3 separate regions of the Homo sapiens genome follow, and all the other regions are linked to region 2. Evidence: promoter capture Hi-C in 16 types of primary human blood cells and fetal thymus (Javierre and others, 2016). All regions are on one chromosome and are shown on one strand. Each heading gives the region's core, a stretch centred on a gene start or on the middle of the fragment in contact. The rest is flanking DNA. Distances are from core to core; before and after follow the strand shown. Region 1 holds the start of C11orf65 (chromosome 11 open reading frame 65). Region 2 holds the start of DYNC2H1 (dynein cytoplasmic 2 heavy chain 1). Region 3 overlaps DIXDC1 (DIX domain containing 1).

Region 1 (2,814 bases), core at 127-2,626, 5.4 Mb before region 2:
CTTGAACTCCTGACCTCAAGTGATCCGCCCACCTCAGCCTCCCAAAGTGCTGGGATTACAGGTGTGAGCCACCACACCTGGCCTGAATTTAAATTTTTTAACCCAGTTTCTATTAGATTGAAAATTAAGATATACATAATGTTTCCATGACTATATTTTTACAGTTTATTGTTCATAACTACTGTGTATTAATGCATCAAGGCAACTACATAAAGAGGAACTGAAGCTCACCCCTTGCTTATGATTGTGATGATTTTAAAGAACTCTGGAAGTTCAGTGAGTCACTGAATTAACCTACCAAGAATTTTTTCTGTACAAATGTTTTCATTATACAGGGAAATTTCTCTTCAGGTGTTTCTTTTCCCTCCTTAAAAGTTTATCTTCCTTACAAACAAATTATATTCCATGCATGAACATAGGACGAACATAGCAAAACTGGGCAGTTCTGAACAAGATTTTTTCACATTGCAATAATCTGTGACCAACTAAAGCACTGCCAAAGTGTCAGACTCAGAATTCAAGCAAGTCAGACTTGCTTTAGATAAGCAGTGCTTGCATTATTTAAGGTCATTTGAAAACTCATTCAAGAGGTCGTCTGTTTTCACTTAAAGCAGTTTAGCTTAACCAGCTGAAGAGCTTACATTTAGAAATAACATTGGACTGCAAGTCACGTATTCTTTGACCTTGAGCAAGACCTGTCAAATAGCTAGAAGGATCAGTTGTCTCATTTTCAAATGAATAAATTAAACTAATTAAATAGGCCGGGCGCGGTGGTTCACGCCTGTAATCCTAGCACTTTGGGAGGCCAAGGCGGGAGATGGGGTAGGGGGGGATCGCTGGAGCCCAGGAGTTCAAGACCAGCCTGGACAACATGGAGAAACCCTGTCGCCACTATTAATAAAAATAGAAAAATGAGCCTGGCGTGGTGGTGCACTCCTACGGTCCCAGCTACTCGGGAGGCTGACGTGGGAGAATCACCTGAGCCAGGGGAGTTCCAGGCTGCAGTGAGCCGAGATCGCGCCACTGCACTCCAGCCTCGGCCACAGATTGAGACCCTATCTCAAGAAAAATTTTACAAAAATTAATAGAAAATATTTCATTATATTTCTCAACATCTTTAAGGTTCTTGGTTGAAATGACTGGGCTTTATTATATACTAAGCCCAACTTCGTAGACAATCACTTTGCTTTCCCTTCCAAAATCCTTTGCCTCAAAGCCACTGACAATCGAAAGCGGGCTTCTAACAGAACCAGCAGCCTTCACAAGCGGTTGGTCTATATCCCCTGCACTTTGTCAGAGCGCGAATAGAGGAAAGGCGGGGCCTAGAAGGCGGGGCTAGGAGGGCAATGGGGCGGGACAGAACGGATTGAGTTACGTCATTTCCGCCTGCGACGTTACCTAGGAGTCCAGCGGCGCCCGGGCCAGCAGCGATTGGTAGGTGAAGGGAATAGTGTCCCTTCTCTCAGCGCGTACTACTGTTCCGGTAGCCTTTGTGCCCACTGGTTTGAGCCTTCGTTGTTTCAAGGCCCTAAAGAACCCATACCCTTGATACCATTCCCCATCCGCCCCTCTTAAGGACGTTTCATTCCTCTAAAGCCCTCCCAGCGAGGCCTCCAGCTGGTTTACAGTCCTGCCCGGGAGTAACCCCTTCCTCAGAGCTCCTTTCCTCGCCCTCGGTGAAGTTGCGTCGGGCTGGTTGACAAGTCCTTACTGCTCATACTGCGCCTTCACAGATCCCCACACCCCAATCCTCCGCAAAGATATTACTCCGTCCACCTTCCCGCTGACCGGGAAGTACACATTAATCTTCCTTAGATTTTTCCTCATTTCTTTCCTTTGCCCCCTCCCATTTGTTTTACGTCTTTTCAGTTTTTTTAGAGATGGAAAAGGGAAACGCGTTTTTAAAGAATAGGTTAGTTTTTCTTCTCCTGCCCCTAGCATCAAGGACCACAGGTAAAAAGGAAAAGCGAAATTACGAAACTTATAAAGGCCACGCGAATCATTTGTTTATTCAATAAATTTAGTAGAGGAAACAAAATAGGACGTATACAGGTTCCAATTCAAGCAAAGTAAAGATTGTTTGCTGCTTTAAAAGTGAAACCAAGAATCCAAACACGTCTTGTGGGCTTTTTTCCACGAAGCGTAAAAATAAATAAGTGAAAACATCATCTATTATGATAAAAAATTTTATTGATTAGGGATATAATAAGCTTGGAAAATACTTATCTGTGAATCTACAAGTGGCACATGGGTGTAGTAAAATACTTCATTGCCTGAGCAGTTGTTTGATAGTACATTTTATTTGGTTAGTTTTTTGTTGTTGTTTGTTTTTGAGAAGGCATCTCGCTGTGTTGCCCAGGCTGAGTGCAGTGGCGTGATCTCAGTTCACTGCAACCTCTGCCTCCTGGGTTCAAGTTATTCTCCTGCCTCAGCCTTCCGAGTAGCTGTGACTGCAAGTGTGCGCCACCACACCCAGTTTATTTTTGTATTTTTACTAGAGACAGGGTTTCACCATATTGGCCAGGCTGGTCTCAAACCCCTGACTTAAGGTGATCTGCCCACCTTGGCCTCCCAAAATGTTAGGATTACAGGCCTGAGCCACCAGACCCGGCCTGGTAGTACATTTTAGTATCTTAAAACTTATGAAGGGTTTTCACAATGGTTATTTTATCTGGAGCATCATAATAACCATATAAAGTCGATCTTATTTCTTATCTAAAGCCAGCAACGGTCCCACCCTCCTTTCTGCTCCAGATGGTGTCCTCTTACACCTACTCAAAGGTTTTACCATTTAACTTATCCCTTTTTTTGCCC
Region 2 (2,889 bases), core at 245-2,744:
CGGGAGGCAGAGGTTGCAGTGAGCCAAGATTGTGCCATTGCACTCCAGCCTGGGTAATACGAGCGAAACTGCGAACTGCGTCTAAAAAAAAAAAAAAAGGCACTGAATGTTTTTGCTGAGTGTCAAAAACTCTGCTAGACCTAGGGATAAGGGTGAACACCAAAGGAAGAGGTTTAAAATATGTCTTTGTTTTATTAACTTAAATCTATTTACTGAGTCCCCTTTAATGTGTCAGGCAATTTTCTTCTGTGTTTTTCTTTTAGGCTTATATATATAAGCCCTGATTGCAAATGCAACCCATTTTTTAAGCAATCCTGCCAGTGGAGGGAGCAGTGCAATTAATAAATCAGTATATCACATGATGTACACCAAAAAAGAATTCAAACTTTATTTTGAAATATATCATTTCACAAAAATTTAAATTCCTAACTAATCTTTCCCTTGGGCAATGTTAAAATCAGAGCCTGATCCAAAAAAGATAGACTAGAATTTGCCTTCCCCCCAAAAAAAAAACTCAAAAAGGGGAGAGAAAAAAATAAAAATAACTAAGTAAATGTTTTCTTTTTAGTTATAACGTATCTGCAGTCTTTCTTAAAAAGTAGAATATAGGCCGGGCGCGGTGGCTCATGCTTGCAATCCCAGCACTTTGGGAGGCCGGATCACTTGAGGTCAGGAGATGGAGACCCACATGGCCAACGTGGTGAAACCCCCGTCTCTACTGAAAATACAAAAATTAGCCAGGCGTGGCGGCGCGCGCCTGCTACTCGGGAGGCTGAGGCACGAGAATCGCTTGAACTCAGGAGGTGGAGGACGCAGTGAGCAGAGATCGCGCCACTACACTCCATCCAGCCTAAGCGACAGAACGAAACTCCGTATAAAAATTTAAAATAAAACACAATCTAATTGCTTCTATTCAGATGTATGGAAGGGAAACATGCTTCGGTCAGGTAGGATGCAAAGCTTGGAAACTACCTGCTTAAGCACGAGGCCAACGCATCTAAGCCAATAATGCAGGAGAAGTGGAGACAGCCTTGGGTTCCTGAAAAGGATCTGGTTGGTAAAGCTAAAGAGTGTGACCCGACGTCCCTCTGGCTGGGCCTGGGGACTTGAAGAGTGGTCAGGGGTCAGGCAGGAGTGCAAGGAACCGTACCGTGTTGGAAAAGGAGATTCCTGCGTCGGATCGCTGCACCCTGAGGAGCATCTGGTTGCCGTCATCCAAGAAGTTGTTGATTTCAAGACAGTTGCACAACAGTGGCTGATCCCAGAGTTCAGACATCAACCCGAAGTAATTCTGGGTAGTAGTGAAGATGAAGAGCTTCCGAACGTCCGCAGTCCCGTTCGCCATGATTGGAAGGGGTGGAGGGAAGTTGGGGGAAGGGGGAAGGAAGAAGAAACCAGTCCGGAGGGAAGTGAAGGGAAGAGAGGAGCTTTGCTCAAACCCGTAGCCCGACCGCGGGACCGCAGAGCTTCGCGGTTGCCAGGGGTAGTCGCTATGGCGACGGAGCACTACGGCGGCGTCGCTGGCGGCGCGCGGTGGGCGTTGCCCTCTCGGGGCACGCGCACGCAAAGCTCGCGGAGGCTATCGACCGCCTCGGAGCTCTTCAGCGGCTCCCTGCGGTCATCGATTGTAAGGGGTTCGGACAAGTTTATGTTGGCTCTCAAACATGTCTTTTATTCTTCTTACTGATTTCTTATCACGCATAATCAGAAGAGAGACATCTAGCCTTCAAGTACAGCAGCGTGATCTAGATTTAGGAGAGCTGGGTTCCAGTGCTCGCTCTCCACGTGCACCTGGTAGCAAACCAGTCTGTCAGCGTCAAGGTACACATCTGTTAAGAAGGGGAAATACTATCTCACAACCAGGGGTGTAGTGCGGATTGTAAAAGATTACTATTTAAAAATCGCTTTTTAGAGAAGCTTATAAAGACTAGGAATTCAATACAATGTTAATTTACTTTCTCAGTCGCCCTCTGCTCCTTTCTGTGCTGCTGCATTTCCCAACATCGTTTTTTCTATTATTAATTTTAGAATAATTTAACCAGCAATTTTTTATTGCAATCATTACCCGAGCACAACCATATTTGTAAAATAGCTAAAATGTAAAATGATACTTTTTAGTTTATTTTATAACAACCGCAACCAAATTCTGTGAAAATACAGATATGAAAACGGTCTTTGTCATTTTCTACTTCATGGCATTACTATAAACTACTAAATTGCTGGTCATTCATCCGAACATTCGTCAAACACTTTCTCAATTCAGTAATTCTCTTCTAAAAATATTTACTACATGCTATTAGGTTGGTGCAAACGTAATTGCGGTTTTTTGGCAAGAACTGTAATTACTTTTGCACCAATCTAACACAATTTGCCAAGTACCGAACTAGGCCCTGGGGACACAGTTCCTGCCCTCAGGAAGTTTTTGCTGTAGTCATTCATCACCTCAGCACTGGTTTGACCCAAGATCCTAGGGTACACAAACATATGCAGATTTTTTTTGTTTGCACTTAATAATCATAACCTCCCCTTAAAACTATACTATTTGAGAATTGGAAGGAGAGAGTCCTTTTATTTGCTGAGCAACTTAAGATTTTGGAGTGGGAACTTAAAAAAGCTGAACTGCTCTAAATTATAAAAGGAAATGAATGTAAATTCTCATGAAATATCCAAACAGTGAGAGATGGGAGTCTGGCCACTGGATGGGAAAACATCCAAACAGTGAGGTGGGATGCTGACCACTGGGTGAGGGAAAAAATCCTAACAGGAACCCAAGATGACTGTGTAGCTAATAAAAAGATTTTGAAAGCCAAAGTGACCACTATGGTTACAGAGTTTCCTGCTCTGCAATGAGCATTATCACTCTTACCAAGGTCTTCAGGAAAGTCTCCA
Region 3 (2,946 bases), core at 1-2,500, 8.9 Mb before region 2:
CATCCGAAAGGGTGAGACGGGGCCTAAGAGATGACAAGGGCACGACCGAGGGGGAGGGGCCTAAAAAGGCGCAGAGACGCGGGTTAATTGCGGCCGAGTGGCCTGAGAGTCTGGGCCGAGGGGCGTGGCCAAGCTTTCTGGAAAAGCTGGAAGTGAGCCCGGGAACTGGCTAGGGCAGTGGGAGCCTCAGGCCAAAGGGCGGGGGTCTTGGAGTGCTGGGGTGGTGAAGGAGCCAGGAATCGCCCGCGAGGGAATCGAGGGGTCCGGCGTGGTGACCTCTGCTTCTGCGCATCCGAAGGGGGATGGACTGGGCCGCGCCCCGCGCAGGCTGTACTGGTTGCAAAGATTTCGTTTCAGGTTTGTAGCCCAAGTGGAAAGTGGAGTGAACAGGTGTTCCACCCAGCCAAGTGGTAACGAAAGGCAGCCCAGAGGAAGATACATTCCCGCATTCATGTATACTGTAGCAAGATTAAGCATATTCCCTGTATGAAGATATAGGTTTACAAAACAGGTGTTGCTCCCTAATACCATAGAATTCTTTTAAGTAACCAAAAGCTTCGTTATGTTTCAAATGTTTGAAAAACTTAACTGTAAGCCGTTGAAGGCATGAAGAGTGTCTGCGTGGTCCTTCCATGTAGCCCCAGAGCTTAATATCCAGTAAATAGCGGGGGCTGAATGTATGTCTTTTGAATCAATGAATAAAAAGTCATCTACACATTTTGTTAGGCACGCTTCTCTTGTAAAGTTGTCTTTTAATTAGAAAACATATCGTTTCTGAACTGAAGGTGACATTAGATAAGGAGGAAGCATGTGCTGTGTATCACCACCTCCCCCCTGTAGAGATGGTTAGAGAACACCAAGAACGCAAGAGGAAGTTGGAGGGAAGAAACTTAAAACAAGATTTTAGCCAGGAGCGGTGGTGCATGCCTGTAGTCCCAGCAATGCTTGAGAGGCTGAGGTGGGGGAATCACTTGAGCCCAAGAGTTTGAGACCAGCCTGGGCAACATAATGAGACTCCCATCTGTTAAAAAAAAAAAAAAATGGGGGCTAATCTTGCTAACAATTAATTTGGAAAACTAAAACAGATTGGATGTACTATTTCATGCCTACTTAAATTGGAATGTTTAAGCAGGTACAGCTGTCTATCAGAATAATATGTAAGCAATATAATTGAGAAATATAAAATTTCTAGATTGAATGAAAAGGCATATTTTAAATAATATGAAGAGAGCAATTATATTGTTACAATTATGTACAACTTATGAATTAACAATTGGAAGAAGCAATGAAAGAATAATTGTAATTACTGAAAGGACTTATTACTATTATTTGGGGATGGAGTCTCACTCTGTCGCCCAGGCTGGAGTGCAGTGGCATGATCCCGGCTCACTGCAACCTCCACCTCCCAGGTTCAAGCGATTCTCCTGCCTCAGCCTCCCGAGTGCTGGGATTACAGGCACGTGCCACCATGCCCAGCTAATTTTGTGTTTTTAGTAGATACGGGGTTTCACCATGTTAGTCATGCTGGTCTCAAACTCCTGACTTCAGGTGATCCACCTGCCTCGGCCTCCCAAAGTGCTGAGATTACAGGCGCGAGCCACCATGCCCGCCCAGGACTTATAAATTATTATAAAAATGTTTTTGAGTTGGCTAAAATATCTTGCTGCTTTTGCTGCATTTGAACTTAATAACTGGATCTAAATTAGACTTTGGTATAAAGTATGAGGTGATCTTCCGGATCTGTTGTGCACTTAGGTATGCTTGCTTAAACCCTGTTTTGCATTTTTCAAAGAATAGCGAGTTTGTGTCTTGAATATACTTTTGACTTAAGTGTAGTTAAATTATAGGAATGCATAGCTCAAACAGTCCAGAGATGGCGAGCTTACCCCAGAGGTGGGCTAGGAATGCTTAGGTTTCTCAAATCAGTCCTGAGAGAACAAGCTTGAATTCCACTAAACAGACTGGATAAAGGAAATTATGGAAAAGGAGACTCAAGACTCAAAGGTTTGAAATAGAGATACTTAAGAGAATGGTGATATCACTGATATTGAGAGAAACAGAAATTAGTTGGTAGTGAAAGATTTTGAGTTATGTACATATTTAATTTTAACATAATGGGATAGCCAATTAATAGTTGAAAATACGTAATTGGAAGTCAAATGAAGGCACTCAGGGATAAAGAATTTAATATAGCAAACATTTAAGATGAATTGATAAGAGGCATTTAAGAGGCAGCTTTCAAATGATCTGGGAATTCTGGTCATTTTAAATACACATTTCTGAAAGAGTTCTTAATGCTTGCATACTGACTTTTGTCATAGAGTTTATACTCTTGGGTTCTTATTTGTTTGCATGTTTACATATAATTTCAAAATAAGTGCTAAATAAATTGTCCTTGATAATAGCCTATGTGCTTACATAGAAATACTAATTGTAAAATATCTGTAGCAATAAAGTAATTCTTATCTCCACTCCACATAGTGAGTAAACATGCTACCAGGGAGATCACTTGAGGAAATTTGCTTTCACTAAATGTAAATGGCTTTATTGATTAATCTCATCAGTAAACGCAAGTGAAAATCATTAATGATATTTAGTTTGCAAACCCCATTTTATTCATAGTTTGTGGTTTTTTAAATTAGTTCACAAATCTGGTACATACCGGCAGTTAAAACTGGTTATCACTTTGATAATCAGAAGCCTCTGGTGTAACATAGTCTTCATGAAAACATATTGTAAAACAGGGAGAATACACAGTAATAATCTCTTTGAAAGCAATGGCTGTAAACATCCATGTTTCTAAGAAAATATAACTTTACATATATATGTATTTTAAGCAAGCTATACCTCTTACATAAATTCAGACAGTAGAAGGAGTGTGCAATCATAATGCTTATTTTATGGAAACAGTGAAAATAATTTTAATTATGACCTAAATGCTTTTAA

What was found. Contacts are between HindIII fragments. The CHiCAGO score rates a contact against its expected background, and 5 or more counts as called.
Region 1: the fragment with the promoter of C11orf65 here is called in contact with the fragment with the promoter of DYNC2H1 in region 2 in 2 of 17 cell types (naive CD8 T cells and non-activated CD4 T cells); the score reaches 6.7 in naive CD8 T cells.
Region 3: a contact is called between a fragment that was not itself captured here and the fragment with the promoter of DYNC2H1 in region 2, in 1 of 17 cell types (total CD4 T cells). The highest score is 5.1, in total CD4 T cells.

What each region holds. Positions count from the first base shown.
Region 1 is chr11:108,466,091-108,468,904 of GRCh38, reverse strand. It overlaps C11orf65 (chromosome 11 open reading frame 65), which reads left to right and starts at 1,376. Exons shown (of 9, transcript NM_152587.5): 1 at 1,376-1,434. RefSeq lists a cis regulatory region at 1,292 and enhancers at 1,220-1,364, 1,305-2,157. The HindIII fragment of the contact is 4,195 bases long and covers 1-2,212 here.
Region 2 is chr11:103,108,031-103,110,919 of GRCh38, reverse strand. It overlaps DYNC2H1 (dynein cytoplasmic 2 heavy chain 1), which reads right to left and starts at 1,494. Exons shown (of 89, transcript NM_001377.3): 1 at 1,151-1,494. The coding sequence starts at 1,345. RefSeq lists enhancers at 1,662-1,711, 1,782-1,901. The HindIII fragment of the contact is 957 bases long and covers 963-1,919 here.
Region 3 is chr11:112,022,231-112,025,176 of GRCh38, reverse strand. DIXDC1 (DIX domain containing 1) reads right to left here. Exons shown (of 20, transcript NM_001037954.4): 20 at 2,524-2,946. Among named protein-coding and RNA genes, the nearest start is that of DLAT, 1.7 kb to the left of the region's middle. RefSeq lists an enhancer at 618-807. The HindIII fragment of the contact is 1,386 bases long and covers 558-1,943 here.